4 separate regions of the Homo sapiens genome follow, and regions 2, 3 and 4 are each linked to region 1. Evidence: promoter capture Hi-C in 16 types of primary human blood cells and fetal thymus (Javierre and others, 2016). All regions are on one chromosome and are shown on one strand. The core of a region is centred on a gene start or on the middle of the fragment in contact, and the rest is flanking DNA. Distances in the headings are between cores, read along the strand shown.

The links. The method cuts DNA at HindIII sites, captures the fragments that hold promoters and counts their contacts. A CHiCAGO score of 5 or more calls a contact.
Region 2: a contact is called between the fragment with the promoter of ENPP4 here and the fragment with the promoter of ADGRF1 in region 1, in 1 of 17 cell types (M1 macrophages). The highest score is 5.4, in M1 macrophages.
Region 3: a contact is called between a fragment that was not itself captured here and the fragment with the promoter of ADGRF1 in region 1, in 1 of 17 cell types (M2 macrophages). The highest score is 5.6, in M2 macrophages.
Region 4: a contact is called between a fragment that was not itself captured here and the fragment with the promoter of ADGRF1 in region 1, in 2 of 17 cell types (M2 macrophages and M1 macrophages). The highest score is 5.8, in M2 macrophages.

Annotation. Positions count from the first base shown.
Region 1 is chr6:47,040,994-47,043,842 of GRCh38, reverse strand. ADGRF1 (adhesion G protein-coupled receptor F1) reads left to right here and starts at 1,511. Exons shown (of 15, transcript NM_153840.4): 1 at 1,511-1,652. The HindIII fragment of the contact is 2,028 bases long and covers 64-2,091 here.
Region 2 is chr6:46,128,649-46,131,497 of GRCh38, reverse strand. It overlaps ENPP4 (ectonucleotide pyrophosphatase/phosphodiesterase 4), which reads right to left and starts at 1,509. Exons shown (of 4, transcript NM_014936.5): 1 at 1,309-1,509. It also overlaps a transcript of CLIC5 not described here. The HindIII fragment of the contact is 7,807 bases long and covers 1-1,895 here.
Region 3 is chr6:46,408,449-46,411,297 of GRCh38, reverse strand. All of the region lies in intron 2 of RCAN2 (regulator of calcineurin 2), which reads left to right. Among named protein-coding and RNA genes, the nearest start is that of RCAN2, 82 kb to the left of the region's middle. The HindIII fragment of the contact is 9,133 bases long and covers 1-2,849 here.
Region 4 is chr6:46,425,841-46,428,689 of GRCh38, reverse strand. The region is part of intron 2 of RCAN2 (regulator of calcineurin 2); the gene reads left to right. Among named protein-coding and RNA genes, the nearest start is that of RCAN2, 64 kb to the left of the region's middle. The HindIII fragment of the contact is 5,753 bases long and covers 1-2,849 here.

The sequences.
Region 1 (2,849 bases), core at 262-2,761:
GATTATGAGATTAGCTTTTTTCCACCCAGGCTGATGGGGGACAAAGGAACAATGGTTGAAGCTTGAGTCTACCTGACAATTGGGGTTTGTCAGGTAAGCCCCATTCTCTTGATAACTTTTTCAGTGGGCTAGACCCAGACCCAATCATGTTAAGTATGATAGGGATCAGTGGCCCAGCTGGTGTGGAAGACAAGTGGGTCATACTGGGTTTAGGCCCACATAGCACTAAAGGTCTTCAACATGCAATTAGAAGCTCAAATGTTGACGGGAATATTGTTCACTCTAAAAAAGATGTTTCTATTAGAATTTACTTACTCTTTCATGAAAACATAGATGCTTCCTCTTTCCTGATTGTGAGAACAGTGTACCTGACTAGCTTCCCCTTTTCTTTAACTGTTAGGAAGTTCTGTCCTAGAGATAAGTTTCAAATTTATGAAACAATAATTTCAGGGATTATTATTTGCATCACTTTTCTTAATTGACTCTTTATAGTTTCCTTTTTTATAGTTTATATAGAGGTTTTATAATGATTTTAAAATTTTTATTCTCACACTATTTTATTTTATGCATTAACATTGTAAGCCAGCTCAAGTCATTTGTAAAACGTGGAGTGCTTAAAAGAAACAAAAGAAAATTAATAAATTAATTGAATTCAGAGACATCCTTTGCTTTCTTTTCAGTGGCATTTTTGAGAATTAACATATTATTATCCCCTTCATTATTCCATAACAGAATTACAAATTGCTAATTTAGACGTGGTTGTTAGTAGCTCATTACCTTGACCAAAAGTAATTTATGAGCCAATGTGGCTAAAGATACAGCACATAATAATCTTGACCTTTCATAGTTTTCAAACTGGATGACTCCTTGGAAAGAAAACAAATCTTTACTAAAGAAGTTAATCAGGTTTCACTCTAGGTTTTCTAAGCACAAAAAACACACCAAAAGCATTCACCCCAGCATCCACCCTGTTGCTGTCTTTTGCCACAGCTCCTTTGGTACTACCCCACCCAGAAGTCTGAGGTTGTTTTATCTGGGAAAGTAGCTAGTTGATTCTTTAGTCTTAAATAAAAAAGTTGGAAAAGGAAAAACAGTATCTACCCTTATTTCTGCCCCACAGGAATTACCCACCTCTCCTCATTGGAATTATGCATGAAGGGCTGCATTCCTTCAGCTTTATAGGGTATGACCCAGTGTGTTCAGAGGTTGGACAGGAAGATTTGATGGAGTAGCATTTTGTAGTAAACCGATCTAGGGCAAAAGTGTTCCACATTCCCCTAGAGCTTTTCTCTCCCATTTCCCTTCTGTGATTTCAGACACCCATTTATGTCTGCTGGGAGAATCATTAAGTCTTGAGCTCTGTGCTCCTTCCTCTTACCAGACCTGATAGTGACTTTAAGCGGGAGGGGGAGTTAGGAGAAAAGTATTTTGTTTCCTTCTTGAAGGGGGTGTGTCCCAGGCTTGTCTACCTGCACAGGCAGTAATGCGTGCCAGGAATTGCTGATGGATCAGTGAGCCTGTGTTCATGCCAGTGAGCTGCTGTGGCTCAGATACTGATACTTTCTTTCCAAACAGCATAAGAAGTGATTGAGCCACAAGTATACTGAAGGAAGGGCTCCCTCGAGTTCTGGTGTGAAGAGATAAATCACCAGGTAAGCCCAATAACTGTACTTTGATTACTAAGAACGTGTATTACGATGACCAGTACTACCTGTTAATCTGAGATTATTTTTTCTCTCCTTGAAAAAAAAATTCTGATTTCAATGTATCATTTCCTGAAGATGGTTAAATAAGGGAACAGAGTTGAAAAAGCAATGAGCAGAAACAACAGATTTCAACCCGCTTACTAACTATAATGAGGTGATTGGCTGAGGCTCAAGCTCCAGATTTTCTGACTGAAAGCACACTCTTCCCTCTGTGATAACACAGGAACCCCATTGTTCTGATGTGCCAGGGAGGTAGATTGCCTAGAATAAAAAGGGCTCCACCAAAGATACTTGTTAAAGTATCAGTCATATGGTTTTCACTAATTCATAATACGTTAACCCTTGCAATCTCTTAAAATAAAATTATGCTTGAGAGAATTAAGCTTATTTTTCCTTTAGGGTGAATTAGTTTAAGCTTTGCCTGGATCCATATATATCCAGGAAGTACTTCTCAATTTAACTCCTTCCCAGGACTCCAAAAAACCCTAGAATTGACTAACCATTTCTCCTGCTACTTCCCCAAATAAATATAAAATGTCACACTGTATTTTCTTAGTAGAGGCCTTGAAAATATATAATTTTTCTTTTCTCTTTTCTTTGTTTTCATGAAAAATCCATTTATGTAAACCTGATAGCCTATGTAATGTACCATGCCAGAGACTACATGAAGGAAAAATACCGAAGGAGATATAGAAAGAAGGTCAAGGTGGGAGAGGTGTGGAGAAGTGATGACCTTGGCTTTTTCATGCTGAGATCCATTAAGCTCAACTTGATAATAGCATTCATGGGCTGGAAATTACAAACAGAGGCAAGAATAACAAAAAATAAATAAAAGTACATTCTTTAATATGTTAGAATATTAACACAAGCCTTTTATTATGCTCTGTTGTCATTAAGAAAACACCACTCATTATCTAACCATAACCCAAATTGACAACAGTGTTCTAATAATGGTCCCATAATACTTTATTCAACCTTTGACAAGTAGTAAAACATTGAGCAAATTATTTAGTTGTCTTATCCTGGTTATTTCATTTGTAAAATGGTGCCAATAAGCGTTAAGATTGGAAATAGGAGTGTATGCCTGTGGAGTCTGACAAGCTCAACTTGCAAACTCACCTTTTGTGCACAACCCCAAGCTGA
Region 2 (2,849 bases), core at 260-2,759, 910 kb after region 1:
AAAAATGATGAGTTCATGTCCTTTGTAGGGACATGGATGAAATTGGAAATCCATTCTCAGTAAACTATCGCAAGAACAAAAAACCAAACACTGCATATTCTCACTCATAGGTGGGAATTGAACAATGAGAACACATGGACACAGGAAGGGGAACATCACACTCTGGGGACTGTTGTGGGGTGGGGGGAAGGGGGAGGGATGGCATTGGGAGATATACCTAATGCTAGATGATGGGTTAGTGGGTGCAGCGCACCAGCATGGCACATATATACATATGTAACTAACCTGCACATTGTGCACATGTACCCTAAAACTTAAGGTATAATAATAATAATTAATAAATAAATAAATCTAAGACCTGAGACCATAAAAAAAAATGTCTTCCAAATTATATCCTGTAACTAATTTAAGTGGAGGTGGGGGGAAGACGCACAAGTGCAGCAGGCCTCTTAATTTCCTTAAAACAGATTGAAACAATCTCTGAGGGGAAAAAAGAAGAAATAGAAGCTCATAATACTGAAACCAGCAGTTGATATTTCACAGTAGTTGGCAAATCTTCCTTCAGACTTGGGTCCACAAGATTGCCTGATTAAGCAAAGCCCTTCTGGAGTCAGATCTGGTGTAAACCTGAATCTGCCTGTCACTAGTTGTACAATCTTGGTTGGACGCGTCCCTTCACTTCTCTGAGCCTGACTTTCGTCATCTGTAAAATGGGAATGCTATGATCTCATAGGGTGGTTGTGACAAGAAAAGGAAGCATTGTTTTTAAGTCCTTACGTGCTTTTAATCCAGCCCTTTAAAAAGGCACTTAAATGTACCTTTTATTGTTTGGTTGGCTTGTTTTCCAGGAAATTAGTTCTTAAATATCATTATCTATAATTAACATAAACTCTAATCTAATATTCAGACAGACGGATGTCGATGCCATGGGTGGTTCTCCTTTAAAACCAAAAGCCTGGCGACCCCGCCCCAGCTCCCCTCAATTTTACCCCAGACCCACCTTAGGTTCCTCCACTACCGTTCGGCTGACTTCCCTCCCTTCACACTTAACACCACAGGTTGCCTTCCCCAGCACCTGCTAATTTTTCTTTCCTCTTCCCTTCCTGGCCTCCGCCTCGGCCCGCCACCTCCCTGGCTCTTTGAGTCCCTTCGTGGACGTCCCCGCCGCGCCCCAGGGGATGTGCGTGTAGTGGGGGAGAGTGGGTCATAGGGTCTGGTCTCACCATCTCTATTTTCAAAGCCCCTAGGGGACTGGAGAGGGGGTGACATTGCCCCCCAGAACGCCGAGCGCGCGAGGCGCGTACTCACCAGCCGCCGCGGTCGCTTCTTTCCAATGCGCGGAACTCGGCGCTCGCGGCACCTGGCACTCGTGGGAAGTTGCGGGGAAGGGGGACCTGGAGGAAGAGGGGCGATGCCGAGCTCTTCCTGAGGCGCCTGCGCAGTGGCAGGCGCCGCGCCGCGGGGCACAGCCCCAACGTCCCTATCTGCGCCGCTCGGGGCGCTCCGAGTGTGCGCAGCTGCCAGGCGAGCGTCTAAGGCGCCAGCTCAGGGCTGGCTGGGACCGGGCAGCAGAGTCTGAAACACGTCCTTGGATTGGATGCTAGAACCAGCGTTGAATGTAACTTTCTTTCCGATTGGTTAGACAGGTGCTTGGAGGGGTTGTATCGGACCTAAGAGTAGAGGTTGATTCCACTCTCCCACCACGCACTTTTCGTATCATCCTAGATCTGGATGCCCTTCATGGAACCTAAAAACCAGCGAGTCCCGGAAAGGCCTCAGGCAATTGCCAAGCCGATGGCCTTCTGCCACTTAGTTAATGTGCACCTGGCAGCTTAGGTGGCCGCGGAGAAAGCAACTTTGGCTGCACCAAGGTCCGGCACAAGTCTGGAGAAGCTTCAGCCAGTTCCAGTGAGTTGGGATAAATGAAACGTGGATCTACCATAGACGTCTGTCCGTCTTACTGGATAAGCGAGCACCTTTACCGGGGAAGTTAGGTAATAGTTTACAAGTAAGGTTAAAAGCAGCACAGTGCCTGCGGCAGGGAACCAGTAATGAGTTACAGCTGAGAAATGGGTGCTTACTTTGACAGACGCGTATGTGGGATTGTGCTCCTGCTTTTAATTGGAAGGTTATTTAATAGAATAATGTAACTAAACTTTCCAACATAAAGAGCAGTTACCAAACAGAAGTAGAATTATTCGCTAACAGTTGGGTTGTCCAGGCACACTTGGCAGTGAGAGGATAGCATCTTTTTTCTTTTTATCTGTAGTGCCAAACAGAACTTGGTATAGAAGTACTTGCTAAATCACTATTGAATTTAATTGTCCCGCTTGTTAAAATGCAGGCTCCAGAAGGTATTTTCTTTCTTGTTCACTACTGTATCTCCAGCTCAAATAAAAAGTACAAATAAATTAAGAATATTAATCACATGTGATATCCTCAAGTGTTAAGTATTTAATAGCTGTAAATCCAGTACCTGGATTAGTAAACTGCAGTACTGGACCTTAGATAACAAATTCTGACGTTGGTCCCCTTGGTCTGAACCTTACAGTATAGCTATTACCAACAATCTGGAAGCAGCCATGGAGATGATTTGGCAATAGATGTATTCCGTTGATTATTAGTTTGTGCCTTGATAAATTAATTCCAGTTTTAAGTCTCAGGTTGGCCTGTGCATTGGTGAATATGGGCATCTTAGATCCATGGGCTTTCAGAGCTGGAGGGGATGGTAGTGGGTCTGTAGCTGAATCCCTAGAACCTGCAGACCCTAGAACCTGGTTTGAATACTCACTCTGTCACTCACCAGCAGAGCAATCATGGGCCAGTGTCTCAACCTATTTGAGCTTTCA
Region 3 (2,849 bases), core at 161-2,660, 630 kb after region 1:
TCTGAATTTGACTACACTAGGTGCCTCATTGTGTTTGACTTATTTCACTTAGCATAATGTCTTCAGGGTTCATCCATGTTGTAACGTGTGTCAGATTTTCCTTCCTCTTAAGGCTGAATAATATTCCATCATAGGTATATGACACATTTTGCTTATCCATTCATCCCTGTATGGGCTCTGTATACTATATGCTATCGGCTATTCTATATGATCTTCCCAGAAACTGTAAGTTCTTCTCTCACTATTTGATATTTGAAATAAGTGAGCACTTTTGAAGGCTAAGTGTTTGTTAAGGGTCACATGGTGAAGAAATGGGGTTGTTGATGGGCAAACTTGGACCTGCCTCCCTCCCAAGCCTGTTCTTTCCCTGCTGCCCACCATGCTGGTGCATGGCAAAAGGCTTTTCAGTCTGTTGTCAGGATAACCATAATCATGGATATAAAAGGGCTTTGAAATTGATAGATAGCTTAATATAATATCATCCTTGTTAAAACTGAATATTTTTGAAATAATATTATTAATGTGTTTTTGAGTAGTTCAAAGAAGATTTGCTGTTATAAGATGGGATTTTTTTCACAAAATAAGAAAAGCATATTTCCTGCAGGTTATTCCTATGGGCCAGTTTCTAATCTGGAACCTCGCCTAGAATAGACATTCTGTAAATATTAGAATAGTAACAGGCAAAAGATTTCCATTTTAAGAGCTGTTTCCAGTAGTTATGTAACAATTATTTCTCAGACATGCCTTTTTGCCTTGTGGCCAGAAGGTGGAGAAAGACGATGTCAAATACTTCACTTGTTGTTTCCTGCTCTGAATTTTTCTCACCAATCCTGGTTACCTTTTTTTACCATGTCCTAATCTACTTCAAATGTACGATTGAAAATAGGGTCTATTATTGATATATGTTAGTCAGTGTTCTCCAGAAAGTCGGAACCAGTAGGAAAGGTACGTAGGTAGGTAGATAGATGGATGAATGAGTGGGGATTTATTAAGGAAATTAGCTTAGCAATGATGAAGGCTAAGTCCCATGATGGACCTTCTGCAAATTGGAGAACCTGGGATGCTAGTAGCATGGCTCAGTTCAAGTCAGAAGGCCCCAGAACCAGGGAAACTAATGGTATAACTTTTAGTCTAAGCCCAAAGGCCTAGACTTTTAGTCTAAGCCCAAAGACCCTAGAGGGTCACTGGTGCAAATACCAGAATTCTAAGGCTGGAGAGCTGGAGTTCTGATGTCCAAGGGTAGGAGAAGAAGAGTGTCCCTGCTCCAGGAGAGAGAGAGAGAGAGAAAACAAAATCACCTTTCCTTTGCCTTTTGTTCTGTCTGACCTCCAGCTGATTGGATAGTACCTGCCCATGTTGGTGACAGCAGATATTCCTAAGCCCACTGATTTCAAATGCCAGTCTCTTCTGGAAACACCCTCACAGGCATAATAAGAAATAATGCCTTTCCAGCTATCTGGGCATCCCTTAGTTCAGTTAAATTAACACCTAAAATTAACTATCACACGATATATCTCATATCAAACTCATATATCAAAACTTTGATCAAAAGTATTTTATGAACGTTTATGTACAGAAAAGAATTAAAAGAATGTATGATGGAGGAAATAGTAAAATGTTGGCATAGTTCCTGGCACTCAGCAGGCTCTCTGCTCATAATGTACATAATGAACTAATGAATGAGTGGTGCATTTAAGAGCCTGTTATAGATGAAGATATATTGGAAAAAGTGATCTAGTACTTTCATGGTTGCAAACTGCAGATGCCTTTCTTGGCCTGTACTCTCTTGACAATGTGGAATGAACATGGAGAGTCTAGTGTATGTATATATAGTTTGTGTATTAGAAATGTGATCCCACAAAAGTCAATTGAAAACATTAATTTAACTGCTGCCAAAATGGGTTAAGTGGTATTTAAAGTTCATGAAGGAATTAATAAAACTTTGAAAGGTGAATAATAATGTAAAAATAAGTTCAGTATTATATTTCTGATTTGGTTATATAACCCTTCCATACTTACTAAATGTGATTTTTAGTTATTGCTTTCATATATACCTGTACAATTTTATTCAAAAGAAAGTGTATCTATGGAACTCGGTGGTTAAATGAGAACCTTGAGAAATCATGTTAGACCATTTCGTTTCTTTAAACAGAATTGTTAATATTTGTGTCTTCCCCTAAAGACTCCTAAGGGAAAAACAACATTTTCCTTCAAGTAAATCAGTATATATGGAATCTATTTTATTAGTATAATTTAAAAACACATCTTAGATAGTGGCAAATGATCTTCATTTGGTTTTTGCAGTTTGATATGTCTCTATGAAATTTATATACCCTAAAATGTCTCCCAAGACCCAGCATTTTATTTAATGACTGGCCTTTCCTTAGCTCATACTTCATTTTCTGACATGTAAGAACAATGTGTAGGAGTAAACAGGATACCAGGCATCCATGGAAGGATGATATTTTTCTTGGCCAAACTATCTCCTGTTGGAAAAATAAAAATAAAAACAAAACAAATAGAAATTTTTGTTTCCTTGCCAAGCCTCTAACCAGTTTTTTTTAAATTATTATTCCTTATTGTCTGGTATTCATGGTGGTTGGATAACTCAGTCAGATAGAGAACCAAGGCAGAGAGGCCAAGGAGCTGGGTTCCTTCTCTTTGTGGGCTGGCAGCTTTGCTCCGTTTGGGTGGCAGGAATCTGTAGCCAAATCTTGGTCAATGCACTAAGAGTCCTAGTGGCAGTGCCTAGCATCTGTCTTTCACCATTACTAGAAAACAGTAACAATGCTGGGAATATTGCAATGACATAGAGAATCTTCTATATGTGAAGGGCAGCACATCCAGCT
Region 4 (2,849 bases), core at 261-2,760, 620 kb after region 1:
AGGAAGGTGAGCTTCATGGTTGGAAAGACAGAGATATAGTGAAAATTTAGCCATGCTCCTCTGTCCTGGGCCCTGAATATCCAAAGCATGATGATTACTTTCCAGGTCAGAGACTGGAGATTCTTCTCTGGAAATTCTAAGCCATTGCTCCAAAGAAAATCCCAGTCAGATCATTTATTTATTCATTTAGCAGATATTTATTGAGTTCCAACTATGTTTACTGTTCAAAGTACCATGAATAATGCATAAACTATACCATTACTCATGGTGCATATCATCTCATGGAGAGAAATGATGAACACATAAAAAAATACATAATGTGATTTTCAGTGGGAATAAATACTACAAGGTGACGCTGCTGTGGTGAGGGACTTTTTTTTTGGCATCATTCTTATATTCTTTGATCAGGGAGTAAAAATATTTGGCAGAACGAGTACTCCCTAGCCCCAGTGAATCTTCACTTACCTCTCATTGGCTGGTACCCTTAGATGCAAAAGAGCCTGGAAAAACAAGCATCTATCTGAGAGGAATAGGACAACCAGGCCTAGCTTAGCCCTAACAGATTCATCCTGTAGCTGAAATGTGGTCCTAGCTTAGCCCTAACAGATTCATCCTGTAGCTGAATTGTGGTCCTAGCTTAGCCCTCACAGATTCACCCTGTAGCTGAATTGTGGTCCTAGCTTAGCCCTCACAGATTCATCCTGTAGCTGAATTGTGGTCCTAGCTTAGCCCTAACAGATTCATCCTGTAGCTGAAATGTGGTCCTAGCTTAGCCATAACAGATTCATCCTGTAGCTGAAACGTGGTCCTTAGTAAATCAAGGCTCTCATCAAGGGAGAAGAAAGAAATCACTTATGTGGAATCAACAGACAATGTCTGCCATAAACTTACGCTTGGATTGCTTGAAAGTTTGAATTGTCTATCTGTTGGTTTCTCTCGTTTCTTTTGAAAATGCAAAGCCCTCTGATGGTTGTATGTCAATACAGCTATATTGCATGCGAGGTCATGTGACTCAGAATCCGGGTTAAGAGAGCAGGATGTCAGAAAGCAATGAGAATGTTCATTAGTGTATTAATCTGATAGGTATGTCATTATTTATTTACTCAATACACATTTTACCCAGTCTTGTTATGCCCCAAGCCCTTGAGAAACAATTAGATGAAAGATAGTTGCTAAATTTGTTGAGTTCTGAACACTATATTCCTGGCATGATTTTAATTATTTTACATGTATAATCTTATTTAACTTTAATAACTATGCAATGGGAAAGGTACTAATACTTACATCCATTTACTGATGAGGAAATTGAAGGTCAGTAACTAACTAATCCAAGGTCAACTAGGGATGTGGGCCTAAAAGGTCTGTTTCTAAAGCCCATGCATGTAACCAGTAAGCTGGACTGCTGAGAAGAATAAATAACAGTTCCTATGGCACACTAAGTGAACAAAGTAAGAGATGATAATGTGGTTTTTAAGGTATTAACTGTATAGTTTTTATAAGGATTCATATAATTTTCCTAAAATTTTGTTTTACATGGGTCATTCTAAATTCCAGTTATTCAAAACATTTAAAATTATTTCAGAGATGCAGAAAACTATCCTGATAATATAGACCCCTCTCTTACCCTCCTAATAAGACTCTTTCTTCCATATTATTCCCAATGACCCTAGGAGGGAGGATCATTGTTATCTGCCTTCTATTTAGAGAAGCAAAGTAACTTTCTTGAGGTCACATATTTAATAAGTTAGTAAAAGGATTCACATACAGGTTTGCTACTTAAACCCTATCCTCTACTTGCTAAAAGTCTGCCAGAGTTCAAATCTCATCTCTACCACTTGCTAGCTGTGTGACCTTGAGCAAGTTACTTAAACACTCCATGCTTCTCTCTGTGTTATACTCTTTTTAAGTGTATAAGTGGGCTTTTCACAGCACAGTTTTATTGAACACCTGATCTGTTTACACAGTAGATGTTCAGTAAAAAATACCTTCTTCTTTACCCATGAATTTATGTTTTATTTCCCCTTCTTGTATGCTAGATCTGTTTTGTATCATGAAGGCATTTTAGTTTTTCATTCTAAGATTTAGGGCTCATTCATTTACCTGTATGTATTTGCATAGCCAGCTGTTCCTCTCATTCAAAAATATCTATGGAATACAGTGTTCAGCTGCCTACTATTTTCCCATGCAGATTAATTAAAGTGATTAGTACTAAAAGCGGTAAAATTGCTTGTCTTTTTAAAAACTGCTTGATGATGAAAAGAATTAACATTTATCCAAAAATTCCTGTGTCTTTAATAATAATTTTATTACAGGAACACTGAAAGTAAAACCTAGAGAAGGTCTATTATACATAATGAAATGCAATTGTGAAATCATTTTATCTATGTTTAGAAACATTCTGCGAAAATATTCATTTAAAATAGCAATAAAAGAATAATTAAATTTCTGTGGGAAGGAAATGTTAACACACCTTTTAAAGAAGTAATCAGTCAGCTGGGCATGGTGGCTCATGCCTGTAATCCCAGCACTTTGGGAAGCTGAGGGGGGTGGATCATCTGAGGTCAGAAATTTGAGACCAGCCTGACCAACATGGTGAAACCCTGTCTTTACTGAAACTACAAAAATTAGCTGGGCATGGTGGTGGGCACCTGTAGTCCTAGCTACTCAGTAGGCTGAGGCAGGAGAATCGCTTGAACCCGGGAGACAGAGGTTGCAGTGAGCCAAGATTGTGTCACTGCACTCCGGCCTGGGTGACAAGGTGAGACTCTGTCTCAAAAAAAAAAAAAAAAAAAAGAAAGAAAGAAGTAATTAGCCTCTATCTGAACAAACTTCCAGAGTTAAAGCTATTG